3 separate regions of the Homo sapiens genome follow, and regions 1 and 2 are each linked to region 3. Evidence: promoter capture Hi-C in 16 types of primary human blood cells and fetal thymus (Javierre and others, 2016). All regions are on one chromosome and are shown on one strand. The core of a region is centred on a gene start or on the middle of the fragment in contact, and the rest is flanking DNA. Distances in the headings are between cores, read along the strand shown.

The links. The method cuts DNA at HindIII sites, captures the fragments that hold promoters and counts their contacts. A CHiCAGO score of 5 or more calls a contact.
Region 1: a fragment that was not itself captured here is called in contact with the fragment with the promoter of NOC3L in region 3 in 1 of 17 cell types (activated CD4 T cells); the score reaches 7.8 in activated CD4 T cells.
Region 2: a contact is called between a fragment that was not itself captured here and the fragment with the promoter of NOC3L in region 3, in 1 of 17 cell types (monocytes). The highest score is 6.4, in monocytes.

Annotation. Positions count from the first base shown.
Region 1 is chr10:98,136,609-98,141,210 of GRCh38, reverse strand. All of the region lies in intron 1 of R3HCC1L (R3H domain and coiled-coil containing 1 like), which reads right to left. Among named protein-coding and RNA genes, the nearest start is that of R3HCC1L, 4.3 kb to the right of the region's middle. The HindIII fragment of the contact is 209 bases long and covers 1,626-1,834 here.
Region 2 is chr10:90,872,620-90,877,141 of GRCh38, reverse strand. RPP30 (ribonuclease P/MRP subunit p30) reads right to left here. Exons shown (of 11, transcript NM_006413.5): 2 at 2,218-2,273; 3 at 1,528-1,584; 4 at 1,044-1,118. Among named protein-coding and RNA genes, the nearest start is that of RPP30, 2.9 kb to the right of the region's middle. The HindIII fragment of the contact is 2,904 bases long and covers 729-3,632 here.
Region 3 is chr10:94,361,055-94,365,303 of GRCh38, reverse strand. It overlaps NOC3L (NOC3 like DNA replication regulator), which reads left to right and starts at 2,365. Exons shown (of 21, transcript NM_022451.11): 1 at 2,365-2,474; 2 at 3,432-3,639. The coding sequence starts at 2,466. RefSeq lists a silencer at 2,162-2,291 and an enhancer at 2,432-2,691. The HindIII fragment of the contact is 1,523 bases long and covers 1,937-3,459 here.

The sequences.
Region 1 (4,602 bases), core at 481-2,980, 3.8 Mb before region 3:
CAATCTAGGAAGAGAATAAAATGGGTACACACTAGTTTATGAAAGTACCTAAGTGCCAAAATAGGATTATAAAGTTAACTCTGCCACAAATAGTTACAGCATCATTTTGGACTTATAAACAGCTTTTGGGTCCTTCAGGAAAGTAGATGGGCTTTAGTAAATGCCTAGAAAAAGAAGACTGGGAAAAAAAAAACATGAAAAATGTGGGCCTCATTATGTTATGTTTAGATTGTGAGATTATGAGTGTTTTCTGTTCTCCTTTTAAATTTCCTGTATTTGCCATGTTTTCTATAGTAAGTTATATATTAGATTTTTTGAGGAAAAAATTAATATTAATCTTAATTTTTTTAAAAATGTGTTTAAACTACACTGAGAGGTCACGTAAGTAGTTAACAGGTAATACATAAATTGACTTGATATTTGCATGCTGAATATGCAAAATAAACTTAGTATTTAAGGAAAAATGTTAGTGTAATAAAAATTTCATGTTACTTGATTTACTATTAATATCTGTTTATTTTCCCTTTCCTAGCCAACTATAAATATTTACATGTTCTTCTCAAATAACAGACAAAAATCCAATAAGCTCTCCATCTTACTCATGACATTCACTCTTTCTGTCTCCCTCCCTGTATCTGTCTGTCCCTCATTTCTAACTCTGCCCGTCTGTCTACATCTCTGATTACCCTGCTTTCTAACTCTGCCTAGGTGACTGTCCCTCTCTGTTTTTGACTTCTCTGTCTCTGACTGACCCTCCTCTCTCTCTGCCTATTGCATGTGTCTCTATGACTCTGTGTGTAGGTGTCTTTGAGCTCCTCTCTTGGATTCTGCCTTTCCGTCTCTCCCCCAGTTATCCACCTCATTTTTAATACATCCTTGCTGTTTACTTTTCCTTTTAATATTTATAAACAAGCAGAGTTGGTTTTATTAACCCTATTTTAAAGACAAGAAAACAGAAACAGGACGACTGGCATACAATTTGAGAAATCAGGATGTAAATCCAACTGCTTCCCTTCTTTCTTTAATAGTCTTCTGGCATTCCATGGCAAAGAACTTGAAACAGCACAACTGCAAGCCAATATGAACACTACAGGCATTCAGATTCTTTTCTAAGAGACAAATGTGATATTAAGGAGTGCTACACACCTTTTGCCCACATTATTCACTCTGCACAGGTTAAATGGTCATGAACTGTCAGCCATTTGCCTATCCCAGAAATCCGTATCCTCATGTTCAGTTTGACCCATGTTATTTGGAAACCTCACGATACTAGATACTAGAATCTGTTTTCCAACAGTGCTTCTCTGCTTCTGTTTTTATCCCTAGTCCCAATCCAGCTATATCTGGCATTAAAAAAAAAGATACAAGAAGGACAACAAATATTAATAAAACTGAAGGGTGAATTTGAAGAATGAAAAACTATACAGAAGGCTAGCATGAGACAGTGAAAAATGGACACCACAGACTCGAAGCAATTGGTCCATGTTTTATTAAGAGAAAAGAAAATTCTCTCCAAATGCAGGCTTACTGCTGCTAAGTAACACCCTATAACTTTTCCTCTATCTAATGCTTTGACAACTGGAATTTCTCTGTAATTCAATAAGCTCTTAGGAGTTCCCCAAGCTTCATCCATCCTGCTGGGCTCATTACTGGATAATTCTAAATGTTTTCTGCACTAGCGAAGAGCACATTTCCTCGTGGGTAGCACAACAGAAGGAGGGTACTCTTTCAAGGCATGAATAGCCTAGCTCCATTTCTTCTCACTTCTCCTATAGGTGAGAAGTCTACAACAAATATAATTCAACAACTAAAAGAAATGTCTAAATTATAAGCTTAGGTTACTGGGGTTGTCAAAGATCATCCTACAGGTCACGAGTTTTATACATAGTGTGACGGCTAATCATATATTTATATAAGCTAATGAAAAATCTATACTTTTGCTTCTGGCACTAGTTCATTTACTTATGTCTAATGAGTTGCATTAGGGCCAAATAAAAAATATACCAGTCTTTTCATTCATTCTGGTGAGATATTTGTGAATAGTTAGCTTATGGAGCTAATGAGGACAAGGTCACAGACTCAAACTCCATGCTGGCCAATTAGCTTTGCTGTGTGTTTCTAGGTTCCATGGTCACAGTCAACAACCTTAACCTTGGCTAAGAAACACACTGATCATTGAAGCATTAGGGGAATGAATATAGATGTATCAACAAAATCCATACCTTTCAGAAAAAAAATAAAAATTAAAAATAGTAATAACAACACCACCCCAATCTTTAATATTATACTAAACCTGGCTAATATGTGCCTCATTCGAATAATCTTTAATCTTCTCAACCATGCAGGGTTAGTCTAATCTGTCTTCCAGATGATGAGAAACTGAATTCAGAATGATCATATGAACCAAAGTTACATCTAGTGAGCCTGGATTCAGACCTTGGTCTGTCTTGACTCCAAAGCATAGGTTATTGCCACAATGCTACATGGCCTCTCCAGAGTGCACCTCAGTGACCTAGGACAATCAACAAAATGTTCCTATTCAGAACTATTCAGCACACTCATTACTGAGCATCCACTATACATACTCACACACTATAGATGAGAATTAGCATACCTTCCAAAAATTCCTTTTAAGTAAAAAACAGTCAAGGAACAAAAGTGTTTAATTGATTTTTTTTTTTTAATAAAGATGAAGTCTCACTTTGTTGCCCAGGCTGGTCTTGAACTCTTGGCCTCAAATGAGCCTACCTCAGAGGATCTCAAAATGCTGAAAGTACAAGAGTGAGCTACCAGGCCCAGCCAAAAGTGTTTAAGATTAAAACATAAAGGAAAAATTAACACATTATAGCATACAAAGTAGATTTTAATGGAAGTGACTTTCTATTGTCATAGCTTTGTATACAAGTCTGGTGTGAAAAAATAGTTATCTTGCTGATTCATAACTAAAGGTAAGAAAGAAGCTGGCAAAACATAGCACAGGCATACCACATCAAAAAAGAGAGTAAAGGAAACATTTCCTAAGCATCTGAATCTGCAGATATCTGGTAGTCAACATGGCACTTGAAGGAAGTAAAAAATATATACTTCAATTCTAAACTCCAAGACTTTGCCTTGACCAACAAACCATTTTTCTCTATAAGGCTTTCCTCCTTGGTTTTTCTCAACTCTCACTCCCTGCAGATACATACATACCAATGCCATCATTAGCATCAGTCACTAAGAAATGCCATCTTGAAAAAATGAAGGTCACCAAGTCTCCCAGACCCTATCCAATAAGCTTAAATTTTAAAGTCTAATAGTCTGGCTTAAAAAAAATAAAAATAAAAATAAGGCAGGAAGACAAAACTGTTCCATAAACGTCTATCCTAGTCAATATCTGAGTCATAAAGATAGATAATTGCTCTGCTACAAGCTACAATGTACAGAATTGCATTCTTACTACAGGTTGTAAATGAAGCACCAGTTCAATTTCAACAAACTAGGTACAAAGCAACATTTGGAATCTCTAGAAAAACAGAAACACAGCAAAGCCCAATAACCTTGCACAACAGCATTTTAGGAACCTCTAAAGTTGAAAAAAAATCTAATATAATTTTTATATAAAATGCAATTGCTAAAAAACAAACTGCAATCTGACAACTTCTATTTACAGTATTTTTTAAAGTTTGTGAATTAAGGATGACTATCCTCATTTTACAGATAAATGGAATTTCAGGAAAATACCTAAAATTATCATCATCACTATTATCATAATCATCAATAACAACAGCAACAAAATAATGAGAACTTTATTTGTACCCAGCACTAGTAAGCCATTTATGGTCACATCTCATTTCATCTTTGTAGACACCTTGTGACATAATGCCATTTACCTCCATTTGAGAGATTAGGAAACAGGCTCAGAGAAGTCAACTAATTTGCCCAAAATCAAAAACTACAGGTTGAGAATCCCTAATCGGAAAATCCGAAATCCAAAATGCTTACAAACTTTTTTTTTTTTGAGACGGGAGTCTTGCTCTGTCGCCAGGCTGGAGCACAGTGGTGTGATCTCGGCTCACTGCAACCTCAGCCTCCCGAGTTCAAGCGATTCCCCTACCTCAGGCTCCTGAGGACATGGGACTACAGGCGCACGCCACCACGCCCAGCTAATTTTTTTTGTATTTTAGTAGAGATGGGGTTTCACCATGTTGGCCAGGATGGTCTCGACCTCCTGACCTCGTGATCTGCCCACGTCGGCCTCCCAAAGTGCCAGGATTACAGACGTGCGCCACCGCGCCCAGCCCCAAAAACTTTTGACACCACCAGTGGAAAATTCCACACCCGACCTTATGTGACAGGTCTTAGTAAAAATTCAATCCAAACTTAGTGTTATGCCCAACAGAGTCTCAATCTATCGGCCAGGCTAGAGTGCAGTGGCCCAATCTCTGCTCACTGCAACTTCCACCTCCAGGACTCAAGCGATTCTCGCGCCTCAGCCTCCCGAGTAGCTGGGACTACAGGCGTGCACCACTACACCTGGTTAATTTTTTGTACTTTTAATAGAGATGGGGTTTCATTATGTTGCCCAGGCTGGTCTTGAACTCCTGAGCTCAGGCAATCTGC
Region 2 (4,522 bases), core at 931-3,430, 3.5 Mb after region 3:
TGGGGTTTCACCACTTTCACCAGGCTGGTCTTGAACTCCTGACCTCAAGTGATCTGCCTGCCTAGGCCTCCCAAAATGTTGGGATTACAGGCATGAGCCACTGTGCACATCTTTTTTGACGGGCTCTTTTGAAACTCTCACAGTAACTCATCAGGATGCCCCCAAACCTGCTGGTTTGTATGGTCCGTCTCAGGAAATGGTACACCATTACCTACCTGGCTGCTCAGGCCACCTAGGGAGTAATCATCCTACACCCAATTAACCAATAAATCCCATCAATTCTCCCTCCTGGATGCCTCTTAAGTACCCTCCTTAACTCCCTCTAATCCATTCTCTGTAATTCAAACCTCATTTCACTCCCTTAGTTAAAACCTTCAAGGGCTTCCAACTGCTCTTGGAATCCTCACCCAAATTTATATCTTTAACCTTATGCCATGTAACCGGCTCACTAGGCTTAGCCCTATTGTTTTGTTTCACTTCCCAGAAAATACCACGTTTTCCTTAGCTTCAGGACCTATGCATAATCCATCCTATCTGGGAACATTAGCTCCCTGCTTGTCACCTATTTAACATTTACTGACTCTTCTGTCTCCCAGCTTGAATATCAACTTACTCAGGTTACATACTCCCAGAGCATCCTTTATTTACCACTTCCCTACCTTGGAACATTCCTTACATTTGTAATTATTATTTGTTCAGTGCTTGCCTTGCCAATTAAACTTTAAGCTTTATAAGTTCAAGGATTGTGCTATTATTCATGGCAATACCCCCCAGCACCCACCTTAAGTCTGGTGCACGTGAGTTCAATGAGTAACAGTTGCCAAGGGATTCTTTAATTGTGGTATCACTACACATGTGCCATGAGTAAGTGGAACAGACATATTACACTGTGTGAATTCTGAGGACAAGGAGAGCAAGCAGGTGTCATGGTTTGGCGGGGGCGAGGGAAAATGTAAAATGGGGAAGACAAAATGCAACATTGTTCAACATTAATCAATACAACTCACAAAGCCAAAAGGAGAGAAGAAAAATAATTAACTTACCAAAACATTGCAGTGAGATGGATCCGAGACAATAATTGTTAATCTAGTTAAAATTTTAATTGGTCTTGATTTTCCCTATTTAAAAAAGACATGATGTCAAAAAAGCACAAAAGACAATAATTGATTTTCCTTTTTACCAGTGGAAAGTATTCATTAAAAGGTACTGGCTATAAGGGATAGTGAAGATCAATAAAACCCAGTCCTTGTTCTCTAGGAATTTACAATACAGCCACAGAAAGAGATGTATATATCTTAAACTACATAACGAGATAATTTAAAAATTGTAGGACTTCAGGAAAGAAGATCATCAAAGCAATGCTGAATTGATAGTAAAAGAATGTTTCCTGAAGAGCTGAGCCTTGAGGAAAACGTTAAGACTGGTACTCAGAGTAAGGTGCAGCTCAAGCTAGAGAATAGCACAATAATTAGGTACCTTTTAACTGAATAAATAGATATTATGCTTCGTAAACAACAAAACACCTACCTGTACAATTGGCAAAGTTGTGAAGAGTTCAGAAACAGCTACTGGTTTTTCAATTTCCTACAACAAACGATAAATAGTTACTGCAGATTGTATCCATTAATAGCACAAGGCATAATGGAAAAATTACGAGGTGTTCTCAGAAAAAATATGCATTTTTTTTAAAAAGAAAGCAAGGTGATTTCTGGTATTCAAAAAAACTTTTAAAAATTATTTTTAAAAAGAAAGCTAAATAGAGAAGCAACTGTAAACATCAGTGAATAGGAAGAATGAAAACTAATTTTTAGACTGAAATAATCTACAGGATACAGTTGTTGGCCTAAAGAGAAATATACATACTTATTAGTAATGTTTAAGAGAGAAAGTAGTTAATAAGCCCATGACAATAGAATAAAAAGGACTAAATATTTTGATTACAGTCCAGCCAATAACAATGCACTTTTTGAACAGTGAAAAGTAACTTAATTTCAAATCACCTTTAAGAATCCTGAACACTATGTCATATTACCTCACAAAAATCATCATTGTATAAATATGCATCAGCTCGACTGTTTCTATATAAAATAGAAAAGTAGTAGTGCACAAAGGGGTGCATTTAAGAAATATTCTAATCTGTAGCTTCCAAATTACCAATACAAACAGAATTACAAATACTTATTTATGAACTTATTAACTTTAGAAATATTATTTTACCTGTTTCTTTTCCTTAAAGTCAACGATATGATTGATAGCAACAACTGAATAGCCAACTGAAAAAGAAAAATTGAACACTTTTGTTAAATATAACAACCTCTCCTTCCTGTAACACAGGTCCATCCTGAGTCTAGATGTCAAGAGTAGGAGGACATTTGAGGAGTGGTTATGAATGTGAACTCTAGTGTCAGTCTGCCTGATTTAAAGTCTATGCACTACCACTTACAAGTTACTTAACATGAAGTTTCAGGTTCCTCATCTGTCAAATGGTGAAAATAACAACACTTTCTTCATACACTGTCATGAAATTTAAATGAAATAATACACATGAGGTGTTTGAGAACAGTGCCTGGCACACAGGTCTTTGTTTAACCATTATGAATTATTATTAAAATGATACTAAAGACTCTTAACTTTGTGCTTCTCCTTTTCAAATGTCATTCTCTTTCATGACCCTATATTCATTTTTATCCCATCAAGTTCCTACTTTATCACTGTCACTTTTATTCCCGTTCATTTCTTTTGCTTTTTATCCTTCTACTTCCTTCAGAGACTCCTTTCCTAAGGAGAAATGGAGTGATAACTCCCTCACACCACTGCCCGCTTCCCATTTTAAGCTGCACACCATCGACAGACTGGGAGCTCCTTGAGGTCAAGGGCTTGCTTTATTATCCTCATCAGTTAGCACTGTTCTGGACATTTGGGCTACCAAAAAAAAATCTAAATCATGACTCCCATCTTTAATTTTTAAAAATACCAATGGGGATGAAAGGATATTAACATTAAAATACATATCAATGCCAAACTCTCAACAGTTTGTCCAACTTCCTTCTTCCCTTCCTCCCTCAAATATTTACTGAGCATCCATTACTTGACAAGCCCTAAACTGGTGTTGAGCATACAGGATAAATAATATAATCCTTCTCCACAAGAAATTTACAGCCTAGTCTGTTGGAGAACGAAGGCAAATAAGGCAATTAAGCAAGTCATTGTATATAAATACATGTTTTTTATAAGTAAGGATTCTATGGAAGTACATAGCACAGTGAAACCTGGTGTAGGGGTCACAAAAGGCTCCCTGAAGAAAGTTACCCTTAAAAACAAAAAAAAAATCACAAGTATGCCTGTACCTTGGGCTTCACCTTGCACCCAGTTAGTCAAATCAACCAGCCACACCTCCTCCCTATTCTTCTTTACCACACTCCCAAATCTGCTCTAAACTTCCTTGTTATACCCATTTAGGATATCCTTTTGGCTACTAAACAATGTCCCTACCGTTCTACAGAAATGTCAACTAGGATCTGTTTCTCCACAAAACTTTTTCCTAGACTACTCCTCATCTGGCAGCTTAGGAGTACTTACTTCCCCAATCAGGCTTTAGGGTATTTTAATTTACACAGTATATTTCTGAAGCTTATTATTGGTTTCTTGTATCACATCAGAAACTGAGAACCAGGGCTCTGTCTTTCCTATTCTTTGCAAATGTCCACTATTTAGTTCCAGACTCATCAAATAGCAGAGCAGTCCTTTGTCTTTGACTTGTAAGTTGAGGCAACTTTATATGCCATGAATTCCATTTAATTTACAAACAAATAACCACTAACAATGTACATATATTACCACACCTCTTCCAAGTGTATTTTAAACTGGGGGAAATTCTCTAAAGAAATCATTATTAACTTTTCTTTTTTGTATTAATTTTTTTAATGTGTTCAGTTTATTCCACAAGCATTAACTGAGTAACTGCCATGTACTGGTGCCTGCAGAGTGAACGTGTTAAGCACAGTAAATAAAAGGATAAGACATGGCAATTCTCTTAGGAAGCTCATGATTTATTCAAAAATGGGATGGCGTCAGGAAAAGCCTCATTGAGGAGGTAATAATTGCGACAAACTACACCTAGGAAAACTTATTTTACAGGATCAAAGAACATTAGCGCCAAATGGCCCAGATCATCATGTCTACTTTCGTCTTCGTGCTGATGAGCAAAGTACCACAGAGATAACGTTCATTTAGTGGCAGCAGTGGAAAGGGACAGTCATTTCGCCACGGATACTTCATAAAGAGAACAATAAAAAAGTGGTGTGATTCACTTTGCCAAGAAGTGGTTGTCATTTCTAGCACCACCTCTGAACAGTATCAGTAATCAGAACTCACAATGAGCTGAAAACTGTCTCTGAGGAGCAGATGTTACTACACGAACCTCTTGATTCTTTTTAATCTCTCTATTCCAACACTTTACAGTCTACGGAATACAGAACCCATGACTAACTCCAATAGTTAAAACAGGTTCTCGTCTCTCAAG
Region 3 (4,249 bases), core at 1,116-3,615:
GTGGGAGGACTGCTTGAGCCCAGGAGTTTGAGACCAGCCTAGGCAGTATAGCAAGACCAAATCTCTGCAAATAATATAAATTAGCCGGGCATGGTGGTGCGTGCCTGTAGTTTCAGCTACCCAGGAAGCTGAGGTGGAGGATCCCTTGAGCCTGGGAGGTTGAGGCTGCAGTGAGCTGAGAGCTGCCACTGCACTCCAGCCTGGGCAACAGAGAAAAAAAATAAAAAAAGGCAATCTTTATATTAAAAAAGAAAATACTAGCACAGGATTGGGCTATGACAATAGAGAAGAGAAAGTGGAGACGCTAAAAGAATACTTTTTTCTGGAAGTAGGGACAAGTAGGAAAAGAGGCACATAAAAGAGCAATTAAAGGGAGATAAGTTTATTAGAACAAATCTTAAAAATGGAAGAGATTTGAATATGTTTATAAGCTGAGGGGAAGGATCTATTAGAGAGGGAAAGAACACAGGAAAGAAGGGATAATTAATGATACAAGAATCTGATGAAGCTGGGAGGAGTTGGTTTTGAACTGGAATGGGGATGCCTCATCCTTGGAGAGACTGGAAGGAAGGCTAAAAGGATGGGAGTGACTGTAGATATGTTGATATGCTTGGGAGGGAATTCAGGCACTTGGGAAGAGCACAGGCTGATGTTTTCCACTTGTTTGATGAAGTAATACTCCAGCGGGACAGGCTCTGCTGTTTCTGACACTGTGTGGAAGGAGACAGAGCAAGGAAGAAGTTGGAAGGGAGGTTGAAAGAAGAGTGCCAGATGGACCTCTTGGTCTTTGTGGTGGGATCAGGAAATTGGTACTTTTTTCCCTCAGTCTCTCTAAGAGCAACACTATTCAAGGGGCTCAGAACCCTTTGAGCCGCACTACTGGGTTTTCCCACCTGCTCAGGACTGCGAGGCCAGACTCTGTGTCAGGGCCATGCTCAAAAATCATAGACTCAAAAAAACCCACAAAAAACTTGAAGTGGAATGCTTAAATTTATTGAGAAAAAAAAGTCTTTGAGAGACAAGCACTTTGATACTCTTATTCTTGCAATCCATAAAACTTCCTGTAAAAATGAACGACTTTAGGCGGGGCGCGGTGGCTCATGCCTGTTATCCCAGCACTTTGGGAGGCCAAGGTGGGCGAATCACGAGGTCAGGAGATCGAGACCATCCTGGCTAACACGGTGAAACCCCGTCTCTACTAAAAATACAAAAAAAATTAGCTGGGCGTGGTGGCGGGCGCCTGTAGTTCCAGTTACTCGGGAGGCTGAGGCAGGAGAATGGCGTGAACCCAGAAGGCAGAGCTTGCAATGAGCCCAGATTGCGCCACTGCACTCCAGCCTGGGCGCCAGAGCAAGACTCCGTCTCAAAAAACAAAAACAAAAAACGACTTTGGTGAAATTACTAAGCAGACAGAATTTACCCAAAGTTGTAAGATACTGAAATGCAGATACAGTTTTTTATTTTTATTTTTATTTTTTAGACAGTCTTGCTCTGTCACCCAGGCTGGAGTGCAGTGGTGTGATCTCGACTCACTGCAACCTCTGCCTCCTGGGTTCAAGCGATTCTCCTGCCTCAGCCTCCCGAGTAGCTAGGATTACAGGCGCACGCCACCATGTCTGGCTGATTTTTGTATTTTTAGTAGAGACAGGGTTTCACCATGTTGGCCAGGCTGGTCTCGAACTCCTGGAACTCAGGTGATCCACCCGCCTCTGCCTCCCTAAGTGCTGGGATTACAAGCGTGAACCACCGCACCCAGCCATGGATACAGTTCTTTATCAGCTAATGGTTAAAAATTAAAGCAAAAAAAAAATGCAAAATAAAACACTAAGAATCACAGACTTTTAAGTGACCAAGGCTGATGAGAAATCATTCGCCATGCTACAAACACGGCCAGAATGTCCGTCGAGGGGCAGGCATTACACACAAAAAATAAGCTTCTTTCTGCCCTCAGGACTGTATGGAGGAAAAAGACTACGAAAATCAGTATCTATAACAGCATGAGATAAGCAACGTGAGGAGAGGCACAAAATGCAATGAGGTGACCGAAAAAACCAAGTCCTCTCATTCTGAGAGGAGGAGCCCGATTTCCCCAAGGTTTTAAAAGAAATAAATAGGGCGAGAGTCAAAGAATCATACTCAGATAACCTTGCAAAATGCGCCCCTCCCGCCCGGCTTCCCGCCTTTGGCACCGACGCCCTCGGGGCTTCCCTCGTGCCAGTCCGCGCGCGCACGCCGGGGGGCAACCGGTCCAGGGCCGCGAGACAGTCACCGCGAGAGGGCGCGAGCCCGAACCTGTCTACGGAAGTCCCGCCCTCACTTCCGGCGGCGGAGGATTGGGAGGGACTGAAGGCCGTTTCCGGCTCTGGTAGTGTAGGGACTTCGGCACGTGTGTCATTCCCCGGGATTTCTGTAGTAACCCTGCTTCTGGTGAACTTGTCTGGCCGGCATTCATTTAAGGCCTAAGGATGAAGGCGGTAAGTGTCCTCAAAAGCCCGGTCGCCGCGGCCTAGGGCCCCTTCGGGTGATAGAGTCACTGCCTGAGTTAGCTTTTAGGCAGGTTTTCACCCGTGTCTAGGGGGCGGTGGTTTAGACTGGGGGCTTTCCATTCCTTACACCGAGCTCATCCTTGGTTACCCACTGTGTGCGCGCACCACTTCAGAGTATCACGAAGAGACAGGCACGGAGTTTTGCATGCGTGGGATTTCATACTTTGAAGGAATTTTTCAAGACCGTCTTTCGAACTCGTTTTTCACAAATGAGAAGCAGGGTCCTACCCTCAGCGAGTTTATAATGTGAGTCACGGTACCCATGAAGGGTAAAGAGATAGAAAAGCAAGTGATTTGTCCTGGTTCTCCCAGAAAATAAGAGGTAGTCCTGGGGTTCAGGACTAACTTTGGGATTTCTGAATGAGTCACCAGCAAGAGAAGTGGAATCCAAAGATCCGAATTCAGTTTTGCCCTCCTTAGTTTATGGGTCTTTTGGCAGCTTCATCAGTAATGTGAGGATAACAGCAGTCAGTACTCAACTAGGCTGTTAGAGGTGATTTGTTGGAGCACTTTGTAAGTAATAAAATCGTAGATAAATGTAAGTTTTATTAAAGACAGCCAGCATTTTGCTTTGAATGTGTTAAACTACAGGTGTGTTAAACTAGCCTTGAATAGCCACTTACCACTACTAGATCAGTGGTTCTTAACCTGTTTGGGGATCGTAGAACCCTTTGAATTGCTGTGAATTGGGATTGAATAACTGATGCTGTAGCGCTCTTCTGTAGGATTAAAGCCATCGTTTGGTTTTAGCTTTTATATGCAAGTCTGTGGCTGTGGGACATTGAAATTGTGGAATTGGTCTAATGAAATTTGTAATCAGTTCTCTTTAACCTGATTTAAAAAATAAGTTTCTGGGTATGCAGTATTCTTTCTGTTATTTTCTAGAGAAGAAATAAAAAACAGATCCCAAGCTTTCGCAAGTTAATAAAAACTAGTAAAGTCAAACTTGAAAACAAGCTAAAAAATAAGCAGTTTAAACAACAAAGCACTCTCAAGAAGTACCGAAAAGAACAGAGGAAACTAAGGCAAGCTGTGAAAGATGCTGTGTCTAAGAAACCCATTCCATTGGAGAACCCAAAGGAAAAGCGACCAGGTAATTGTGAAAACATCATGTGCTCTGGTTTCCATTGATTTATTCTGAAGTGTTCTTCATGGAAATAACTTTGCTTTCTAGTAATCGCTTTTCTTGTTCTCAGATCTTCCTAGAGTGGGTAAGGATAGTAGTCCTATAGGACTGCTATAAAGCATATATGCTTTATCACAGTCAGTATGAGAAAACATTTCAATACAGTATTCATTCAAGCTTCTGCTTTTAGTTTGTCTGGAAGGCAGATCTGAAGATGCACTACTTGGGAAAACAAACTGAAAGTACTCCGTTACATAAATATTGGGCAGTGTGCCAGTGCTGCCACTTTGCCATTCACCAGCAGTTAGGTAAGGTAAGAACATTGCTTGTCTCTGGTTCATTCTTCACAGTATTGCCAAGGTACACTTCTAAACTTCTGACTTTCTTTTCATGTGGAAACTTGGGGTGAAATTGAGTTGTAATTGTCATGGTTATTTTGTAAAACTATCTAAAAATTATTAAGTACTCAAAACTTGTAAGGAATATGACTATTTTGAGTCAGGCTAGTTCTACAACTTTGCTGGTACTTTTAGGGTATTCTTATTTGACTATATCAGATTATTAGACAACTATTCAG